7 separate regions of the Homo sapiens genome follow, and regions 2, 3, 4, 5, 6 and 7 are each linked to region 1. The links are contacts of gene promoters, found by promoter capture Hi-C in blood cells and fetal thymus (Javierre and others, 2016). All regions are on one chromosome and are shown on one strand. Each heading gives the region's core, a stretch centred on a gene start or on the middle of the fragment in contact. The rest is flanking DNA. Distances are from core to core; before and after follow the strand shown. Region 1 holds the start of RWDD2B (RWD domain containing 2B). Region 2 overlaps LINC00189 (long intergenic non-protein coding RNA 189). Region 3 overlaps LINC00189 (long intergenic non-protein coding RNA 189). Region 4 overlaps LINC00189 (long intergenic non-protein coding RNA 189). Region 5 overlaps LINC00189 (long intergenic non-protein coding RNA 189). Region 6 has its middle 42 kb from the start of HEMK2. Region 7 has its middle 7.0 kb from the start of LINC00189.

Region 1 (2,957 bases), core at 125-2,624:
TTTGGACCAGCAAATTTGTTGTTGTCGGGGGATGTCCTGTTCATTGTAGGAAGTTGAGGAACATCCCTGTGCTCTACCTACCCCATGCCAATACCATCCTTCCAGTTGTGACAACCCAAAATGTCTTCAGACACTGCTAAATAGAGGGGAAATCCATCCTTCCCCTTCTCTTGAGGTCTGCTCCACTGTAAAATTCTCTCGACTTCGCTTTACACTTGAATTTTTTCATAATAAATGTTGGAGGAAAAAATAAATTATGACATTGAAAAACGCTCATGAAACACTATGCAGAAGACGTAGTTTATGAAGACCTACAATACATACTGTCGTATTTTTGTTTAAAAAAAAAAAGTGGAGGGGAGACCTAGCAGTGATATTTAGTATTGCTAAATGTCAATGTTTACAAATCTTATCTATGACATTTCTAAAATGAATATTATAAAGTGTATTGCATATAGTTGGATTGGGAAGAAAAACATTTCTAATTATTCTCCTGTCAGCATCTCCTTCAAACTACCCTTTTATTAACAGGGATAGATATGCATTCACACGGTTCCTCCCAGCTTGGTTAATGGGCAAGAACACCTAAGATAGCCAAGGCCACCATGCATCCAGGCTCACATCTCCCTAATTGCCCTCCTCCATGATTCAGGGACAAGGAGGATCACCATCGTGTGGGAAGATACTAGAAATGTAGAATTTGGAACCCCACCCCTACCTACGGAATCCTGATCTGCACTTCAACAGGATCCCCGAACTATTCCTAGGCGCGTTCGAATTTGAGGAACATTAACGGACCAATTCTTTGTCCCTGAAAAGTGCCCGTTATAGAGGCGGCCGCTGGGAAATGACAACGGGGTTGGCATGGAGAGGTATTAAGTAGAAAAACTCCGGCCGGGCACGGTGGCTCAGGCCTGTAATCCCAGCACTGTGGGAGGCCGAGGCCGGTGGATCACCTGAGGTCAGGAGTTCGAGACCAGCCTGGCCAACATGGTGAAACCCCATTTCTACTGAAAAATACAAAAATTATCTGGGCATGGTGGTGGGCGCCTGTAATCCCAGCTACTCGGGAGGCTGAGGCAGGAGAATCGCTTGAACCCAGGAGGCGGAGGCTGCAGTGAGCCGAGATCGCGCCACTGCACTCCAGCTTGAGAGACACAGCGAGACTCCGTCTCAAAAAAAAAAAAAAGGAAGAAAGAAAGAAGAAGAAGAGAACTCTGCGACTGAAAAGTACCTAGCAGGGACAACGCATTCCCTACGTCCTTCCAAGTGCAGACACCAACACCGGCGGACGCGGCTCCCAACAGGCGAGCCCCAGCTTCCGGTCCGCGGCCTTGGACGCGCATGCGCCGCATGCTTTTTTTTTTTTTTTCCGGTAGGTCGCCAGCTGAGGCGGTTTGTAAGTTTTGGGTCGCAGTATGCTAGAATTTTGAGGCTCCCTTCTGATGAAAATTGAGCTGTCCATGCAGCCATGGAACCCGGGTTACAGCAGTGAGGGGGCCACGGCTCAAGGTGAGTCTCGCCTCAGCTAGCGCCAGTGGTGACCGCCACGGGGGTTTCCCACGCTGCAGCGCCCAGTGCAACCCTTTGGGAACGTGCCCGGCATGGCGGCCCCGGTTCCCCTCACTGCATGCGCCCATCGGTCGGCTCGGTCCTCGGCGTTGCTTCCCGGCTTCTGCAGCCCTGCTCCAGCCGGGGACCTCGCCCCGGGGGCAATCAGGGTGCGAGGGCGGCTGCGTGCTGGGCTTTCTTCCTGAGAGCGTCTTGGCTTGGGTCGCGGGGTACCCTGCTCTGTTCTTCAAAAAAAAATCTGCAAGGAAAAGATATTATTCCACTCAGAAATCTCAAGTTTCAGTCTGCGTTCTCTTAAATATATTTTATTTTTTAAAAAAATAATAAAGGCGAGCTCTTACTATGTTACCCAGGCTGATCTTGAACTCCTGGGCTCAAGCAGTCCCCCTTCCTCTGCCTCCCAAAGTGCTGGGATTACAGGCGTGAGCAATCGCGCCCGGCCACAGTCTATTATCTTACAGCATTCGCTGAAATCTTGAATCATAAAATTATCTTGAGGGTTTTTTGGAAGGACTGAAATCTCTTAAGCGAAAATAATTTGGCAGATAAATGACCTGTGACATCACTCCCGTAGTTGTCCGTTCAAGAGTCCCTCCGTCCCGTTCTTCTTTGCTAATCCCATTTCATCTTCGATACCTCCAATTCAATAGCACCCTCTCCCAACTTTACTCACTCCCTGGGAGACTTTAAACAAATATATAGTTCCAAATAAGTGTTGACTCCCAAGATTATATATCTAGCTGAGTCTCTCGTAGACTTCAAAACTATACATCTAACTGCCTGCTAGACCTCTCTATTTAACAGGTGTCTTAGTAGGCACTTCATTACTTGTGTCTAAAACCAAGCTTCAGCTCCCCATGACCATCAACGTCTAAATAAATGGCAGATCCATACTTTCAGTACCTTAAAGCCCCGGAGTCATTCTTCCGTGTCTCATGTAATTCATCTGTAAATCCTGTTGCCTCTGTTCTCTGCATGTATCCAGAACCTGAAGCTCACCAACTTGACCACTATAATCCTATCAAAGCCACCATCATCTCTCCCTAGTTATTGCGGTGTCTATATCTGGTCACCCCACTTTTCCTTTCACTTTTCTCCATAGCAGCAAGTGTGGGGATCTTCATAAGTCAAACCTCTCTTGTAGCTCTTACATGTCAGTCGGGATAAAATTCAAAATTCTGGCCATGCTTTACTAGTCCCAACATAAACTGCCCCACATTTCCTTACTAAACTCTTCTATTCCCCGTGTCCTCAGCTCACTGTGCTCTGGCCAGCTGTTCTAGCACCCTCCTTCCTCAAGGCCTTTGAATATGCTGTTCGCTTTCCCTTGAACACTCTTGGCCAAGAAAAACACATGGCCTCCTTTTTCAGTTCCTTAAAGTCTC
Region 2 (2,957 bases), core at 226-2,725, 250 kb before region 1:
TGGCAGACATATCCTGTGTTGTATCTGAAAGGGATCAAGACTAGATGGGTAGTTTCCAAACTGTCCTTTGCAGAGATGCAGAGGGTCTGTGGAGATCTCTAAGGGCTATCTCTGAGGGAACAGTGGACAGAAAGGTGGACAGAACCCAGCAATCAGGGCTCTGTCCCCACCATCAATACCACACAAAGTAGCCCCACCCTCTCTTTTATTACCTGCTGACATTTCAAATAAGCTTCCCAAATAAAGGGATGTGTCACTCTAAATGAAATTATCTTGAGAAGCACAGGACAAGGTAATTTTAAAATCTTTGTTCAACTCTATAATCTTATCAATTCCTAGAGACTCAGGCATTCAATAGCCCTCTTATGACCCACTGCAGTCTTCAGGTAGGTCTTCAATATACATTGATGTTATATATTAGTTATAAATTACATATTAAGATACAGTAAATGAATTACTGATTGAGGCTTGATAAGATCAGTTGCAGGAGGATGGAGATCATGACTGTTGTTTGAGATGGATTAAGAAGTGGAGGAAATAGAAACTTTGAGCAGCCTCTACTCTTTAGAGACAAATAGGTCTGGAGAAGGAGATAGCATCTGAGGAAGGTTAAAGACCAAAGGAAAATTCTTTCATGGATGCTGTGCAGATGAGAGCATTGATTTTTTTTTTTTTGAGACAGAGTCTCACTCTGTCACCCCAGCTGGAGCACAGTGGTGTGATCTTGGCTCACTGCAACCTCTGCCTCCCAGGTTCAAGTGACTCTCCTGCCTCAGCCTCCTGAGAAGTTGGGACTACAGGTGTCCGCCACCAGGCCCAGCTAATTTTTGTATTTTTAGTAGAGACAGGGTTCCACCATGTTGGCCAGGCTGGTCTCGAACTCCTGATCTCAAGTGATCAACCTGCCTCAGCTTCCTGAAGTGCTGGGATTACAGAAACAAGCCACCACACCCGACCAAGGGCATTGGTTTTAAAGTACTGAGTACTTAATCTGTTTCAGCAAGTATTTATTGTCCCATTCAAGTAGGTGCTTCTACTTTTTTAGGCCAGTGATTCCCAGCCCTGATGACTCATTAGAATCCCCTGGGGAGGTTTCAAACAGTATCAACTCCCCCATCAGTTAAAACACCATCTTTGCGGCTGAGTCCCAGGCATGGGGTGGTGGTGATGGTTGTTGTCCCCATAGTCCCAGAGCTGCCAGGCAAACCTAACATGCAGTCAGGTTTGAAGTTGGAAGTTTCATTTCAAATCAAAATGTCTAGGATTTACATCAGTGAGGTTTTAATATGTTGTATTAGTCTGTTCTCATGCTGCTAATAAAGACATACCTAAGACTGGGTAATTTATAAAGGAAAGAGGTTTAATTGACTCACAATTCCATATTGCTGGGGAAGCCTCACAATCATGGCAGAAGGGTGGAGGAAGAACAAAGACACATCTTACGTGGCAGTAGACAAGAGGGCATGTGCAGGGGAACTCCCCTTTGTAAAACCATCAGATCTCGTGAGATTTATTCCCTACAACAAGAACAGCATGGGGGAAACCCCCGCCCCCATCATTCAATTATCTTCACCTGGCCTGGCCTTGACACATGGGGATTATTACAATTCAAGGAGAGATTTGGATGAGGACAAAGTCAAACCGTATCACATGTTAATCAAAAAGTATTACATTTACCTCTTTTTTTTTCTCTTGAGGCAGAGTCTCCCTCTGTCACCCAGGCTGGCGTGATCTCAGCTCACCGCAACCTCCACCTCCTGGGTTCAAGTGATTCCCCTGCCTCACCCTCCTGAGTAGCTGGGATTACAGCACCTGCCATCACACCCAGCTAATTTTTGAATTTTTAGTACAGATGGGGTTTCACCATGTTGGCCAGGCTGGTCTCGAACTCCTGACCTCAAGTGATCCACCTACCTTGGCCTCCCAAAGTGTTGCGATTACAGGCGTGAGCCACCACACCGACCTAAATTTACCTCTTAAATAGTTCTTGTTTACAGGTTTGTTGCTGTTTACATGTGATGTGTTAAATCTTGTGATCAAAGAATATTTAATGAACACATTTATAATGAAATAATAGGAAAAATAGATGTGGAAATTTAAGTAAAATGTATGTTTTTCTTTCATTGGGAAAAGATGTATACATATAAATATATAATATATATTATATATGTAACTATATACAAAATGAATTCCAGTATATTAATCACATTATTCAATCCACAACCTGGTAACTGGAGAAAGAACTGGAGAACATCTTTCTATGCACACACCCTACCCCTCCCCACCATACTAACCTCTGCTTGGTCTTCTTTGGCAGTACAGAAATCATCACTGAGGAGTGGAAGTACTTCAAAATTGGACCAGTCTGGCTTAAATGCTGGCTCTGCCCCCCACTCTCTAGGACAAATTCTGAACTTCTCTGAGCCCAGTTTCTTCATCTAGAAATGGAAATGATGTCACCTATTTCCCATGGTTCTTTTGAGGAGTAGATGTGATCACTATAAACGACTCAGCAAAGCATCCAGCATATTTCAAAGACACATACCTCTTCCACTAACAACAGTAAGAGCAGATAATGTCCACTGATCATTTTCTATGTGCCACCACCTGGCTATGTACTCTTTATATATCAGTTCATTTTATTGTAATGCAGTGTAATCCTTCTTTTAAAGTAGGAGATGGAGAGAAGAATAGGATTATAAAGCAAGGTCAAGCTTATTTCAGATTCCTTGGCATAGCAAGGTCAGGGGACCACCTTATTGCGTGTTGTGAAACTACAATACTTGTAACATAAAACACAGTGTCAAAAATAAGTGCCTTATCTAAATAGTCACATGTACTGTAAACTCTCATTAACTATGAAAGTATCTGTCATGAATTGTGACATTTATAAAATGAAATATGTTTTCTTACCAGATAATCTTGGCTTAATAAATATAGTACATATATGAGAAGGT
Region 3 (2,957 bases), core at 146-2,645, 220 kb before region 1:
AGCTACTCAGGAGGCTGAAGCAGAAGAATTGCTTGAACCCGGGAGGTGGAGGTTGCAGTGAGCTAAGATCATGCCACTGCACTCCAGACTGGGCAACAGAGTAAGGCTCCTTCTCAAAAAAAAAAAGAAAGAAAAAAGAAAAAGAAACATAGGATAAATCCATCTTTTAACAGTATGTCACTTATATGTTTGCTATGGTTTGGGTGTTTGTCTCCCCAAACCTCACATTGAGCTTTGATCCCCAGTGTTGGAGATGAGGCCTAAGGGGACGTGTTTAGGCCATAGGGGTGAATTTCTCATGAATGGCTTGGTGCTATCCTTATGGTAATGAGTGAGTTCTTGCTCTATCAGTTCCTGTGAGAGCTGATTGTTAAAAAGAGCCTGGCACCTCCTGCCTCTCTTGCTTCTTCTCTTGCTGAATGATTTCTGCACACACTGACTTCCCTTCACCTTCCACCATGAGTGAAAGCAGCCTGAGACCCTCACCAGATGCAGATGTTGGTGCCATGCTTCTTGTATGGGCTACAGAAGTGTGCGCCAAATAAACCTCTTTTCTTTATAAATTACCCAGTCACAGATATTCCTTTATAGCAACACAAATGGACTCAGATAATTTTCAAACAACATAATCTGCATTTCTTTAACTTCCATTCCCCTTCAAAAGTATAATGAATATAGTAAGCTTCCTATGCTGCCAGAATTTTTGGATGCTCAATATGTTTTATAAGTTACTTTTTTCTAGATCAGCAATTAGGCCCATTATTTTAAATCTAGAGCAAATCCACTTCAACTGAAAGCATATTATTTGAAGATAACTAACATACTGTTTTAAGAAAAGTTTACTTTGTTTCCTGACTTTGCATATGTATCTTATAGAATGGGGACTGGAAGACCAACAGCAATAAATTATTTGCCAAGAAATGTAGTACATTAATAATGTAAACTGTAACTGTGTAAGGCCTTTTGAAAGATGCTTAATACATAAATCTACTCTCTGATAATTTTTTTTTTTGAAACAGAGTTTCACTCTTATTGCCCAGGCTGGAGAGCAATGGCTAGATCTCAGTTCACTGCAACCTCTGCCTCCCGGGTTCAAGCCATTCTCCTGCCTTAACCTCCCAAGTAGCTGGGATTACAGGTGCCTGCTACCACGCCCAGCTAATATTTGTATTTTTAATAGAGACCGGGTTTCACCATGTTGGCCAGGCTTGTATCAAATTCCAGACCTCCATTGATCTGCCCACTTCAGCCTCCCAAAGTGTTGGGATTACAGGCATGAGCCACCATGCCTGGTCAACACTCTGATAACTCTAAGCTATTTAATCCTTAAAAGTTACCAGCCTCATTTGCCAGAATGTGTTGTTTTGATGCCTAATGCCAGAGTGTAAGCTCCCTAAAGGTAGTAATATGTGTAGGATTTGTTCACCAGGAATATCCAGTACTTGGAAATGGGCCTGGCACATAGAATGCATTCAATAAATAATTTTAAATAAATGCTGCCATACATGGAAAGAGGATTAACATGATTTAGCTACTTAAACAATCTGCAACTCATCTGAATATTACTGGTTGGGCAAAGTCCCCAGTGCCTCTTGCTTAGGGGTAGCTTGCAAAATGAGAATCTCTCTGACCATGAAAATTATTTGGGAATTCTTCCAAATATGTCAGCTTAACAAAGACACATCAGTGAGTTATCTTGAAAATTCATTGTCTTCCTTATGTCTAAGGAAACATAGCACATTTTGACAGATAGCCACCATTTATGATTTCATGACATAACTGACACAATTGCAGCACTTAAAATAAGATTTTCCTGCTTTTGGATAGGTCTTCTCATGCCCAGTATATTTTTTAAGAAGTTATAAACAGTGAAAAACAAATTCATTGCAATTATATAAAGTATGTTAGCATAGTTCTTTTTAGAGAAAAACATCCTCATTATAAGTATGTTACTGTAAATGTATATTTATATTGTAAAATCCTAATTCATACACACTACTCCTTTTGTTGGTGGGGTAGAAGTAAGACACTAAAGGATCTAAGAGATTCATAGGGAAACTAAGTGGAAAATATTGGGAAATAAGATGAGGCAGACCAGCCAAGCTTTGGGTTTTTTGTCTGTTTTTTGAAATGGAGCTTCGCTCTTGTTGCCCAGGCTGGAGTGCAATGGCACCATCTCAGCTCACTGCAACCTCTGCCTCCTGGGTTTAAGTGATTCTCCTGCCTCAGCCTCCCGAGTAGCTGAGATTACAGGCACCCGCCACCATGCCCAGCTAATTTTTGCATTTTTAGTAGAGACGGGGTTTCACCATGTTTGCCAGGCTAGTGTCGAACTCCTGACCTCAGGTGACCTGCCCACCTCAACCTCCCAAATTGCTGGGATTACAGGTGTGAGCCACTGTTCCTGGCCATGCTTTGGGTTTTTATGGTACCAATAACCACTTCTCTGAAGTTAGAGGTGTAAACTTCACCTGCTTGATGTACTTTTTGGAAGAGCCTAGGTTGAAGAGAGGTATAGGGGATGAGAGAGGTGAGCACCAGAAAAAAACTTATAAAGAAAAGCCTGTGTTTGTTTTGAAAACAAGTAACCTATGGCTGGGAGAAGAGCTACTGTCAGATGCATGGGCAGAAAATCCAGGCAACCTGACTGTGAAAGGCCTACACAGCAGCAGCTGCAAGGCTGCTCACTGAGTCTTCAAAAGAGGGAACTTTATGCTAAGTCAATCTCTTCTCTGCATAAACTAGAATTATTTTACTTAGCAATGCCTGCTTTTCAAAGTATGGGTTGTAGAATGAAATAACCATTGTTCTCATCCCAAGCTTCACCACTGACCAGCAGTGGGACACAGGACAAGGAAAACTCTTTCCAGGCCTCGGCTCCTGTATTAGTCCATTTTCATCCTGCTGATAGACATACCCAAGACCAGTTGCTTTATTTAAAAAAAAAAAAAAAAAAA
Region 4 (2,957 bases), core at 295-2,794, 210 kb before region 1:
CTTGGCTACAACATAGAGAATAGTTTAGAAGGAAGCTAAAGCCAAAGGCGGAAAAATCATTTAGAGGCTTCTGAAATAATCCTGGAAAGAAGTAAAGGGAATCTGAACAAGTGCAGTGCAGATAGGCTAGAGAAAATGGAATGCCTCCTAGAGATATTAAAAAGGCAAACTTTCAAAACTAACACACCAGTTGGGGGATTAGGGAAAGGGGATAGTGAAGTACCCCAGTTTTTGTCTTGGATAAGTGACATTTGAAAAAGAAAGGTATGTAACAGGAAAAGGAATTGGAAAACAGATGATGAAATTCATTTTGAACATATTAACTTGAGATACATCGATTTCAAGATCTAGAGGTCTTATTTTGTTTTACTTTGAGATAAAATCTAATTTTCTTGGAATTCTTTGAGATAAAATCTAATTTTCTTGGAATTCTATCAACTGAAAATTTCTATTATTTGGAACTGACTTGGCAAGATCAGGAGTGAAAGAGAATATATGACTACAAACCCCATGGATGTGAAAAAAAGATAATATATAATGGCTACAAGTAATTCTATACACATACATTTGACAACTGAGATAAAATGGACCAATTTCTCCAAAATCAATAAATACCAAAGCTTACCTAAGATGAAATAGATAACCTGGATAGTCCTAAAACTATTAAAGAAATTGAATTGATAGTTTAAACATCTGAAAAAGGTATCTCTTGGACAAATTATTTCACCAATCAGTTCTACCAAACATTTAAAAAAGAAATAGCACAAATTCCACATAAGCTCTTCCTTAGAAGAGGAGGAAACACTTCCCACTTTATTTTACAAGACCAACATTAGCTAGATACCAAATAAACAACCTAATCTTAAGGGAAAAAAAACTAAAGCAAACAAGAAACAGAAGGAACATTTTCTTTAGTTTTCTTTTTAAAAAAATTCTCTTGTATATTTTTGTTGTTTATTCATTTATATGACTCGACTGCAGTAAGAAGGAACATTTTCAAAAAAGCTTTGAGTAATAGGACAAGCTTACAATAGCCACTTGAATTTGACAAAATGAGAGCAAAAAGATTAGAATATAAAGAATGCTGTAGTATGAAACAGGAAATAAGAACCAAAATAATGTCATCAAAATTAAGCAAGCTAAAAACACAAGTTAAATAAGATCAAAAGAGCAGAAAACAAAATCAATATACTTACATTTAGAAAAAGATTGTGATAATTACAGTAATGCAAATAACATGAGGTGCTTAAAGAATCATAAAGAAACTACTAGATATGGAGGACAAAAATAGAGAGCCCAACAAATGTTAACTGATGTCTCAGAAGAAAAAATAACTCAACAGTGGAATAAGAAAAGTATTACAAAGATATATCACAAAATAAGTAACAGTCCTGAAATGAGAACTCAATTGGCACAGTGAATGAACATGAAAATTAAGTATGGACCTCTTTGATATGTATCTTTGTTAAGTTATTGAATTGTAAGAATGAAAAATAATTGTTCAGGTATCAGAAAGCTAATCACCTACAAGGAGAAAAAAAACCATACGGACCTCAGACTTCTGCAAAGCCAAACACCCAGCTAGAAATGAGAACTATCTGCAGTGTGCTGTTCAATATGACAGCTACATCTGTGTTTTGAGCACTTGAAATGTGACCACTTTAAACTGAGTTTCATTCCGAATATAAAATACATCCTGAATTTTGAAGACTTTATGAATAAAAAGGTAAAAATCTCATTAACATTTTATGTTGATTACATGATGAAACATTTATATATATTGGGTTAAATAAAATATATTAGTAAAATTAATCCAATTTAGAAATGGGCAAAGGACATGATTAGATTATTTTCTATGCCACAGTATTAACAATATGACTTAACTGTTGCTCTTTAACTCTTTAATAACCATATACCACAAAACTGGCAGAATTGCTTTTCTTTAAAATAGTCATTGAAAAATATTCTTACCCAGCAAGATTTCATTTAGAACTGAAAATTTTCAGGGTATAAAATAAGCAATTGTGTTACAATTATGATCTGCCATATGAGGTTCAAGCTTCTCCAGATGTTGACCGTGTTTGTGCTTTCTCTGCCTTTTCTCCAAGTTACTTACTGCTTTCCTCTATAGCATTAGCTATTTTTAAAAATAAGCTACTATTTTTGTTTTTCAGCTTAGGCTCTTTGGTCAACTGAGGTCAACTATCCTGGTACCGTGAGATCCCCATTTATATCATCTCACCCTAAAAATATATCCCTCCAAAGTCAAAAGATGTCTTTTTCTTTCTGAGTCATTGTATATTAGTCCGTTCTCACAGTGCTACAAAGATACTACCTGAGACTGAGTAATTTATAAACAAAAGAGGTTGAATTGACTCACAGTTCCTCATGGCTGGAAAGGCCTCAGGAAACTTACAATCATGGCAGAAGGGGAAGGGGAAGCAAGGTATGTATTACACGGTGGCAGGAAAGAGAGGAGCACGCAGGGGAAACTGCCACTTATAAAACCGTCAGATCTCATGAGAACTCACTCACTATCATGAGTACAGCATGGTGGAAACCGCCCCCATAATCCAATCATCTCCCACTAGCTCCCTCCTTCAACATGTGGGAATTACAATTCAGATTATAATTCAAGGTAAGATTTGGGTGGGGACACAGACCCAAACCATATCACACTGTGACAAGTATCTGACTCTTGAAGAATTGTTAACTACTAGAATTTCAGGCAGTAAGAAAGCACTGGGATGAGAAAATCCTTTTGTCAAAATACCTGTATTTCTTGCTGTTTCTGCTTCAGTTTTTCTCCCATGGTTAGAAAAGAGATTTTCCAGTCTTCGGGGTGGAAAGCTGTTCACAGAACACAACAAAATTGAAAGGGGCTTCCCAGTTCTCTGAGAAAAGCAACAACTGGAGCTTTATAAGAAAGTGCCTGTAACTCAATAAACAACTCAGAT
Region 5 (2,957 bases), core at 208-2,707, 190 kb before region 1:
GGACTCAGCATTGCACCACACTCCTGGATTTTTAAGAAACTCTCCTTTTAACAAGTTCTAACGATCATCTCAAATATTCTACACATCCTTTCCCAAACTGGATGTGATTAGATATGCCAGTGGTAAAAATGTTTCATGCTCAAATAAGTTTGAAAACGTGAGTTACACACAGTTAGATGTTTCTTTACTATAAGACTCTCAGAGTGTTCGATACGAATGTACATCAGAAGTCTTTGAGAGATTTGACCACAGACACAATGCTTTCTTTGTAGTAAACCTATTAACACCTGCTGGAGAAACTTCCCTACATTGTGAACAGTGAGGTTTTGACTACTAGTTCTGAGGTCTCATTGTTCTTAACTTCATAGATATTACTTTGACCAATGTAATCAGTGACCTATGCTTAAATATAAGTCATTGCTAAGAGAGTTTTCAAAGCTGGCCAGGGCATCCACTTAGAAACAATGATCACCTTTGCACGAGTTGATTAGATGGGGTTGAGCAGAGAACAGCTACTGTAGAAAACGCTGGAAAGAGCATCATGCTGAGAATGTACAAAGGACACATCATACAATTAGGATACTGAAAACCATCATTTTAAATGGTGCACCATAGCTGTAAACCGTAAGGAAATGATAGTGGCAAACAGGACCAGTCTACTGTGTACCAAACAAACAGAATAGCTCATCATAAGTAAGCAGAGAAGTGCCCAACCCAAGGACTGAGGTTTATACAAAAGTTTTCCAAGCACAGCCCATAGTGTCCTGTAATCACTGCCTTTGTGAGTGAAGAGAAAGACCAAAAACTTTCCAGCACAAGACTTCGGAAGTCTGACCTCACCCTTCCCCACTATGATAACTAGGAGAGAAGTTTCTAACTATATAAAATATATGAAACTCAAAGCTACAAAAAATACCTCTCTGACCTTTCTTTGGACTGGTTATGTTAAAATAAATTGTGAATTGAGGTTTTGCCTACAACAAATGGACATAGAGCAATGATAAGCTACTCTCTATAATGAATTCTGAGTAAGAAGAAATGAACTCTTTTTATTCTTTTTTTTCTTTTTTTTTTTTCGAGACGGAGTCTCACTCTTTCACCCAGGCTGGAGTGCAAGTGGTGCGATCTCGGCTCACTGCAAGCTCCGCCACCCGGGTTCACACCATTCTCCTGCCTCAGCCTCCGGAGTAGCTGGGACTACAGGCGCCCGCCACCACGCCCGGCTAACTTTTTGTATTTTTAGTAGAGGCGGGGTTTCACCGTGTTAGCCAGGATGGTCTCAATCTCCTGACCTCATGATCCACCCACCTCGGCCTCCCAAAGTGCTGGGATTACAGGCGTGAGCCACCGTGCCCGGCCGAACTCCTTTTTTTATATAAAAAATAAAAAGAGCTTTAACCAAACTGACTTTTTCCTTTTACACACAGAAATAATTGATGCTTTCAAAGTTTAGGAGAAAATTCTAAATATGCTGTCATGATAGCTAATGGAGTTTCCTTGATATCTGTATTAGTCTATTCTCACGCTGCTAATAAAGATGTACATGACACTGGGTAATTTATAAAGGAAAGAGGCTTAATTGACTCACAGTTCCACATGGCTAGGAAGGCCTCACAATCATGGTGGAAGGCCTGTGAAGAGCAAAGTCACATCTTACACGGCGACAGGCAAGACACTGTGTGCAGGGGAACTCCCATTTATAAAACCATCAGATCTCGTGAGACTTATTCACTACCACAAGTACAGTAGGAGGGAAACTGACCCTATGATTCAATTATCTCCACCTGGCACCCGGCAGGGGTTATTACAATTCAAGGTGAGATTTGAATGGGAACACAGCCAAACTATATCATATCAATATCAAATTTCCATCTCATAGAAAATTGATATACAATGGTTCTCAAAATTCAGCTGCATCAAAATCACCTAGAGAGCTTGCTGAGATCTACACTGGAGTTTCCAATTCAGTAAAACTGGGATGGGGCCTAAGGATCTGCATTTCTAACAAGTTCTCAGGTGATACTGATGCTGCAGTTCTGGGGGCCACATTTGAATACAGCTGGAATGGGATGAGCCTTAGCAATCAGCTGATCCATATCTTTACCTTACAGATGAGGAAGCGGGGCATAGAGAAGAATTTATCACTGAAGGCGAGGCCAGCAACAGCTACCTTGAACACCCCTGCACTCTGCTCTGTCCTTTTCCACTGTTTTAGTCACATGTCCAGGGTCTCAAAATGTTATACTGCTTTTCCCTACACTCTCTTCTCCATTCCCTTATCAGGAAAAACTACAAAAACTTTATTGTGGGGAAAAAAGATTACCAGGACTCTGTCTGTCTATCCTTCTAGTGTATCTTTGCCTTGTACTCCCTTTCAGCTGCTTCACTACTCTCAATATTGTCAAAAACTAATAACACAAATGATGCTTGCCTGAAGAAATGAAAGTGAATTGGGCCCTGTGAAATACAATTGATTATTGGGCTGTAGGTATTAACCCAATATGCCTGTAAAATGATTTCAGCATTCTCAATTCCCTCTGTGTGTATGTGTATTTAATTCTCTTTTGAATGTATAGTATCTTAATATGCTCCACAATAAATACAGAGTTAAATAAAGTCTTTGGCGTGTGTTCATTTACTATTTTTATAATTTTTGTGTCATGGTTTATGTTTTTTAAAAAAACTTACCTTTTAACATGCTAAAAAAGACAGTACTTCTTGAATGGTAGAATAAAGACCATCAAAAATCTGCTCATCCATAAAAGCAATGAGATCAGTGGCAAAAATTGTCAAAATTAACTTTTTCAGAACTCTGGAAATTAACTAAAAGATTGCAAAATGTCAAGGACTGTTTAGTCAGGAAAAAATGGCTGAATCTTGGTAAGACCAGTGAGCTATTTTGTGGCATTTTAACTTGACCTAATCCCTCTCCCCCACCCCAATGCCATGGTAACATT
Region 6 (2,957 bases), core at 213-2,712, 180 kb after region 1:
GCAAAAATGTCATTAAAAATAATGATTAGTGCTATACCTATTGACCTGTAGTGATTTCCACAAGGTATTCCACACAAAAGTTTGAGGAGACAAGATATAGAAATTGTAGGATCCCTTTTTGTAGAATAAACAATAATACTTATATATGTAGACTTACATCACATTTCTGTATAGGATTGCATGGTCAGGGAGAGAAGTATGGAATTAGGCTAATATGAAGAGTGGAGAAAAAAGCAGATGGATAGCTTCTCTGCTTTGAAAGAATGACCATCAGCCACTGTTGAGGATATTTAAAATCAGATGGTATTGACTGTTAATAAAATTCCTAATGAGAAATTCAAACAATTAAAGCTTACCAAATTGACCACTATGGAGGATATATATGCTTGAAATTTGTGTATATGTATTACGTTTAAATGTGTATATATATATAATTCCTTTGTCATTTCTCTTATTGCTTCACATATTGGAAGTAGGTATTATATAATCCCTAAATAAGCAATAGATTATTAAAACTTTGACTTAAAAACAGTCACACTTATAATGTGCTCTAATAGTGCATATAAATATATGTTTTATTTTTGAGCATTTTAAAATTCAGATTCCCTTAAAATTTCTTAAAAACACTAATTTCATATTATACGGCTTCCCAGTCCTGAATTACACATTTTACTACTATGTGAAGCTGGATGCCCTTCAGAGAAATTGGCAAAGGATAATGGCATGTAAAATACTGTTCATTTCTCATTTCCCAACCATGAATAGTAATATCCACATTATAAACATAAAATATACTCCTCAGACTTCACATCCACAGAACTGGCTTATCTGCACAGAAAATTTCATGTTTAATCAAGAAGGTCTTTAAGCTGAAAGGAGACCATGACATGCTTTAAAAGACTAAAGAATTTTCTGGTTCTATCTTCCTACCTTTCTTTGCAAAAATAATTGGGTTCTGATTGAAGTTTGTTATTACTGAGTATGTCTTTTTTGGAAGAAGATCATTAAGTTTGAATTGCACATGTGCTACCTTTTCAGAATTCCCGGATAAGGACTTAATATGGTTTTGGATTGTAATCCAAATTGTAATCACCACATGTCAAGGGAGGGACCTCGTGGGAGGTAATTGGATCATGGGGGTTGTTTCCCCCATGCTGTTCTAGGATAGCAAGTGAGTTCTCATGATTGCCTTTCTTCCCCTTCGCCTTTGCCATGATTGTAAGTTTCCTCAGGCCTCCTCAGCCATGCAGAACTGTGAGTCAAGTAAACCTTTTTCCTTTACAAATTGCCTAGTCTCAGGTACTATCTTTATAGCAGTGTGAAAATGGACTAATACAGGGCTGTGCATAATTTGTCTTTACAAAACGCGTGTTGAAACCACATGTGTTTCAAGTTCATGAGGATACTATTAGTCTCATGTAAGAGAAGACTCAGCCAATAGTGACTAGACAAAATGAACATTTACTTTTCTTATTTAAAGGAAGTCTAAATATAAGTAGTTACAAAGTTACAGTTCAACAATTTTATCAAGACCAAACTGTCTATCTTCCCATTCTTCCATCTCCAGTAATTTGATGCTATCTCCCATTGTAGACTTGGGATAACAACTGCACACTTAGCAGCAGGTTTTTACATATCCATCTCCAAAGTTAGGCAAAGGGACCCTCCTAACTAATATCTACCTGATTCTCTGTATACAATCAGAGGAGGAAATCTTCCCAGTTGCTTACTGGGATATTCTACCTTTGTCTCATCATTCATAACGAGGTCCCATGATCACCTGAAATAAATCATTGGCAAAAGGAAATGCGACTACTAGCACTAGCTTAGACTAGCCAAGATTTATCCTCTGTGACTGGGCACGTTGTTGCTGAACAAAACTCGGCTTCTGTTAGGTGGGGAGAAGGAGTAATGGCTTTGGGTAGGCAATCAACAGTGACTGCCACATGAGCAAATAATTTCCAGGTATCGTCTGGGTCTACCCTCTACGAGTCATCAGGAAGGAACAGTAGAAAGCACAATCAAATACTATCAGGCCAGTTGCTAACAAGCATCCAATTATTTCATGGCATCTGTTGATAGTCTGAGAAGTTAGGATATTAGTTCATGTGTTCAGTAGAAATACAGCTAAATCAACAAAGGGTGAGAGAGGTAAATGTTTAAGGAAAAATAAGACAAGAAAGAATTATCTCAATCTTTTATTAATAGTGTATAGAAAACTGAGTTATGTAGTTATACATGTGATATAATAAGATATAATTTTATATGAATAAATAATGTAATATATAATAATGATGCCAATAACACCCATGGAACACTTTAGGCTAGCCATTATGTCAAGTGCTTGATATGCATGTTGCTGTTTAATCTTCACAATTATCCTTTGGGATAGTGTGTCAGGCATCTATCCCTAAGACCACCCCAGGTTCAGTGACTTTCTAGAAGGACTCATAGAACTCAAAAGTTGTAATAGTTACAGTTACAGTTTATCGTAGTGAAAAGATATACAGCAAAATCAGCAAAGGGAATAGGCACATGTGACTAAATCCAAAGGAAAGCAGCCTCAAGCTTCCAAGAGTCTCTCCCAGTGGAGTTGCACAGAATGTGCCTAATTCCTCCAGCAATTAGTTGAGACAAGTGTGAAATGTTGTCTTTCAGCAGGGCTCTCCTAGCCTAGGAGTCTAAGGGTTTTTGTTTTTATTTTTTATTTTTCCATAAATTATTGGGGTACAGGTGGTATTTGGTTACATGAGTAAGTTCTTTAGTGGTGATTTTGTGAGATTTTGGTGCACCTGAGCAGTATACACTGCACCATATTTGTAGTTATTTATCCCTCATCCCCTCCCACTCTTCCCCGCAACTCCCTAAAGTCCATCGTATAATTCTTATGCCTTTGTGTCCTCATAGCTTAGCTCCCACATATCAGTGAGAACATACGATGCTTGATTTTCAATTCC
Region 7 (2,957 bases), core at 298-2,797, 170 kb before region 1:
ATAATAGAGTATTCCAGGAAATAAAGCAATCAGAGGTTACTTTGATGAGAATACATGCCTTTAATTTGCCTTATAAGTCTTTTGTGATCCAGATATATGCCATCTCCCTTGGTAATTCGTCCATCTGTGCTACATGTGGATGACTTAATTCTTACAGGTCATTTTTTCATATTCAATCTCAGGACCTTTGAAGAATCCTCTCAACTTATGGATACTAATCCATCAGCTGCAAATAGCCACACAAATGTTCACCACATGCATATACAGGACTATGAAGCTTTGTACGATATGGAGTTGTATTAGGGTAAGTCAGAAAATAGGGAAAAGGGCTATGAGTGCTGATATTCAGAAATAAAAATGAAAAAAAACTAGGTTAAAGCCAATTAATACTTTCTCATCAGACCCTGTCATGTTTCATAGTGTTGTACACAAGTAAAGTTTTGGAAAAAAACAGAAGAGCTGGGGACTTGGGTGGGGAGGGGAGGAAGTAAGAGTTTTGTAAGGAATTCAGGGACATCAAAGTACTAAATGTATAACATTGAGCAGCGTCTGCATCCTAGCTGTGCTACCTGTGTAGTTACACAGAGTCCTGCACGCAGGAGGAGCCTGAATTGGCCTTAAAGCTCTGTCACTATCTTGAGATTCTTAATATTTTTTGCAAAAATGGACCCCAAATTTTCACACTGCACTGGGCCCCGCAAATTATGTAGTTGGTCTTGCCGCTAAGTAAAACTTTCTGAAGTAACCATTTAAAAGTCAAAAGTAAATGTTTATTCAACTTTCTACCTAATGATTAGTTTGATGTCCTGACAATAGCAAACCAAACTGAGGCTCCATACTCCCATGCTCTCCCTGCACATGGAAAGAACAGCTGGCAAGAAATGGCTGAGCAGTAACCATCAAGAGCTATGGATAAGTGGTTGTTGTACAGAACTTGAGAAGAGAGACAAGTTCCTATCATCAGTTCTTATAAGAGCTTGGATAGCTGCTTCTGAAATCAAGGACTAGACCTCTTATATTATAGTGACATCTGCCCCTAGATTGAAAATCCCCAATCTAGGAACTGAGGAAGGTAATTTGGCACTATTGTCAAAACTTTTCTTTATCATCCTTCACCTTTGACTCTGTCTAGTATAAGAAAAAGGAAATGCCAACCATTTGGGAGTTTATTACTTGCTATACAAAAGTAATCACCATTACTTCCATTCCAGGGATTAAGGTAGACCAAATATCCTATTTCCATGTTTTGCACGTGCACACACACACACACACACACACAATCATGTAAACACAAACATATATCAATGGACAAAGTGCTATTTATAGAGATACTGTATTTAAAATAATCTGGATAGATAGTAAAAATGAAGGAATTTGGAAATGATTAGTATCTTTCATAAACTTTCATCTGGTAGGACAGAGGAAGGCACTATACTCAATTTGATAAATGGAAGACATAAACTGCTAAAATGACAATACTTTTAATTGACTCCTGAAATAAAATACTGCACCAACATTATTGCTGACTCATAACTGCCCTCAATGACTTGAACTCCTCTCCTGCAGCAAAGTCTTTTAGCTCCACTCCTATACATTTCACCCCATATACTCACTCTCTTTCTTGCATACTAAGTTCCAGACAATAGGATTGTATTAGTCAGCATTGTCCAGAGAAACAGAACCAATAGATAGAGAGGTTATCAATGATAGATAGATAGATAGATAGATAGATAGATAGATAGATAGATATCAATATACAATAAGGAATTGACTCATGAGATTATGAAGGCTGACAGGTACCAAAATCTGCAGCCAGCAAGCAGGAGGCCCAGAAGAGCCATGGTGTAGTTCCAATCCAAAGGCTGGCAGGCTCAAGATCCAGGAAGAGACCAATATTTTAGTTTGAGACTGAAGGCAAAAAAGAGCCCATGTCTCAGGGTCAAGGCAGTCAGGCAGGAGGAGTTCTCTCTTACTTGTAGGAGGGTCAACCTTTTGTTCTCTTCAGGTCTTTAGTAGATTGGATGAGGCCCACCCACATTAGGATGGAAAATATGCTTTTTTCAGTCTGCCGATTCAATCGTTATCCGCATCCAAAAATACTCTCACAGACATATGCAGAATACTGGTTGACCAAATATCTGGGCATCCTGTGGCCCAGTCAACTTGATACATAAAATTAACCATTTCAAGCATGTAACTGAAAGCATCTTGTGCCAGCTTCCAGGACAGCCAGCCACCCCACTGCCTCAGCCACTTCTTTGTTCCTTCCTTCTCTGGTTGCCTGGAATATATATACCGCCATCTTGGACCATGAGATTGAGAAACATTGCTCAATAATGGCAAAGAAGTTTGAAGCCTTGGAGATTTGATGGAGAAGAGCCTCTATTTCAGCCCAGGACTACACATCCCAGTCTTTTGCATGAGAGAAAAGGAAACTTCCACCTTGTTTAAGGCACCGTTATTTGGCAGGTTTCTGTCCTTCACAAGCAATTCTAATCCTAATTCATGTACCTCCCTTTCACTCCCACTGCACACAACAGGGTAGAATTACAGACTGGACAACAAATTAGATAAAATACCTATGACCAGAAAGGGAGAAAATTGTGAAAATCCCATCCACTCTACAGGGAGGGTAATTTGTATCCTTGCAGTAATATTTGCACAGCCTTTCACAACATTACTTCATTTCTTTCCAAAAATAACCTTGAGAAGCAGACAGAGCTAATGTTTTTATCCTCATTTTTCTCTCTGAATAATCTAGGATTGTCCCTGCTTAGATGATAATTTAGTTTTAATTGATTCTTCATATTAAGCTTAGCAAAACCAGTATCAAGTGAACAATTTAATAGCTTATTAAATACAATGCTATTACTTTGCAAACATTTATAGAGAGCTTTAAAACATCTTTATAAATATAAATTTAGTCTTAAAGCAAGATTGAGGTAATAGTAAAATTT

Evidence for each region. The method cuts DNA at HindIII sites, captures the fragments that hold promoters and counts their contacts. A CHiCAGO score of 5 or more calls a contact.
Region 2: a contact is called between a fragment that was not itself captured here and the fragment with the promoter of RWDD2B in region 1, in 3 of 17 cell types (naive B cells, neutrophils and activated CD4 T cells). The highest score is 9.4, in naive B cells.
Region 3: a contact is called between a fragment that was not itself captured here and the fragment with the promoter of RWDD2B in region 1, in 1 of 17 cell types (naive B cells). The highest score is 5.4, in naive B cells.
Region 4: a contact is called between a fragment that was not itself captured here and the fragment with the promoter of RWDD2B in region 1, in 1 of 17 cell types (naive B cells). The highest score is 5.5, in naive B cells.
Region 5: a contact is called between a fragment that was not itself captured here and the fragment with the promoter of RWDD2B in region 1, in 1 of 17 cell types (neutrophils). The highest score is 5.5, in neutrophils.
Region 6: a fragment that was not itself captured here is called in contact with the fragment with the promoter of RWDD2B in region 1 in 1 of 17 cell types (non-activated CD4 T cells); the score reaches 6.3 in non-activated CD4 T cells.
Region 7: a fragment that was not itself captured here is called in contact with the fragment with the promoter of RWDD2B in region 1 in 1 of 17 cell types (neutrophils); the score reaches 5.8 in neutrophils.

Annotation. Positions count from the first base shown.
Region 1 is chr21:29,017,766-29,020,722 of GRCh38, reverse strand. RWDD2B (RWD domain containing 2B) reads left to right here and starts at 1,374. Exons shown (of 5, transcript NM_016940.3): 1 at 1,374-1,512. The coding sequence starts at 1,446. It overlaps LOC124905005 (a long non-coding RNA gene), which reads right to left. Exons shown (of 2, transcript XR_007067836.1): 1 at 2,476-2,957; 2 at 1-1,810. RefSeq lists an enhancer at 1,284-1,533. The HindIII fragment of the contact is 4,408 bases long and covers 1-2,419 here.
Region 2 is chr21:29,264,431-29,267,387 of GRCh38, reverse strand. The region is part of intron 1 of LINC00189 (long intergenic non-protein coding RNA 189); the gene reads right to left. Among named protein-coding and RNA genes, the nearest start is that of BACH1, 33 kb to the left of the region's middle. The HindIII fragment of the contact is 2,482 bases long and covers 235-2,716 here.
Region 3 is chr21:29,240,967-29,243,923 of GRCh38, reverse strand. All of the region lies in intron 1 of LINC00189 (long intergenic non-protein coding RNA 189), which reads right to left. Among named protein-coding and RNA genes, the nearest start is that of LINC00189, 49 kb to the right of the region's middle. The HindIII fragment of the contact is 1,421 bases long and covers 685-2,105 here.
Region 4 is chr21:29,223,598-29,226,554 of GRCh38, reverse strand. The region is part of intron 1 of LINC00189 (long intergenic non-protein coding RNA 189); the gene reads right to left. Among named protein-coding and RNA genes, the nearest start is that of LINC00189, 32 kb to the right of the region's middle. The HindIII fragment of the contact is 1,035 bases long and covers 1,027-2,061 here.
Region 5 is chr21:29,203,925-29,206,881 of GRCh38, reverse strand. The region is part of intron 1 of LINC00189 (long intergenic non-protein coding RNA 189); the gene reads right to left. Among named protein-coding and RNA genes, the nearest start is that of LINC00189, 12 kb to the right of the region's middle. The HindIII fragment of the contact is 5,970 bases long and covers 1-2,957 here.
Region 6 is chr21:28,841,564-28,844,520 of GRCh38, reverse strand. It overlaps a transcript of HEMK2 not described here. Among named protein-coding and RNA genes, the nearest start is that of HEMK2, 42 kb to the left of the region's middle. The HindIII fragment of the contact is 2,217 bases long and covers 354-2,570 here.
Region 7 is chr21:29,185,020-29,187,976 of GRCh38, reverse strand. No RefSeq gene overlaps it. Among named protein-coding and RNA genes, the nearest start is that of LINC00189, 7.0 kb to the left of the region's middle. The HindIII fragment of the contact is 2,536 bases long and covers 280-2,815 here.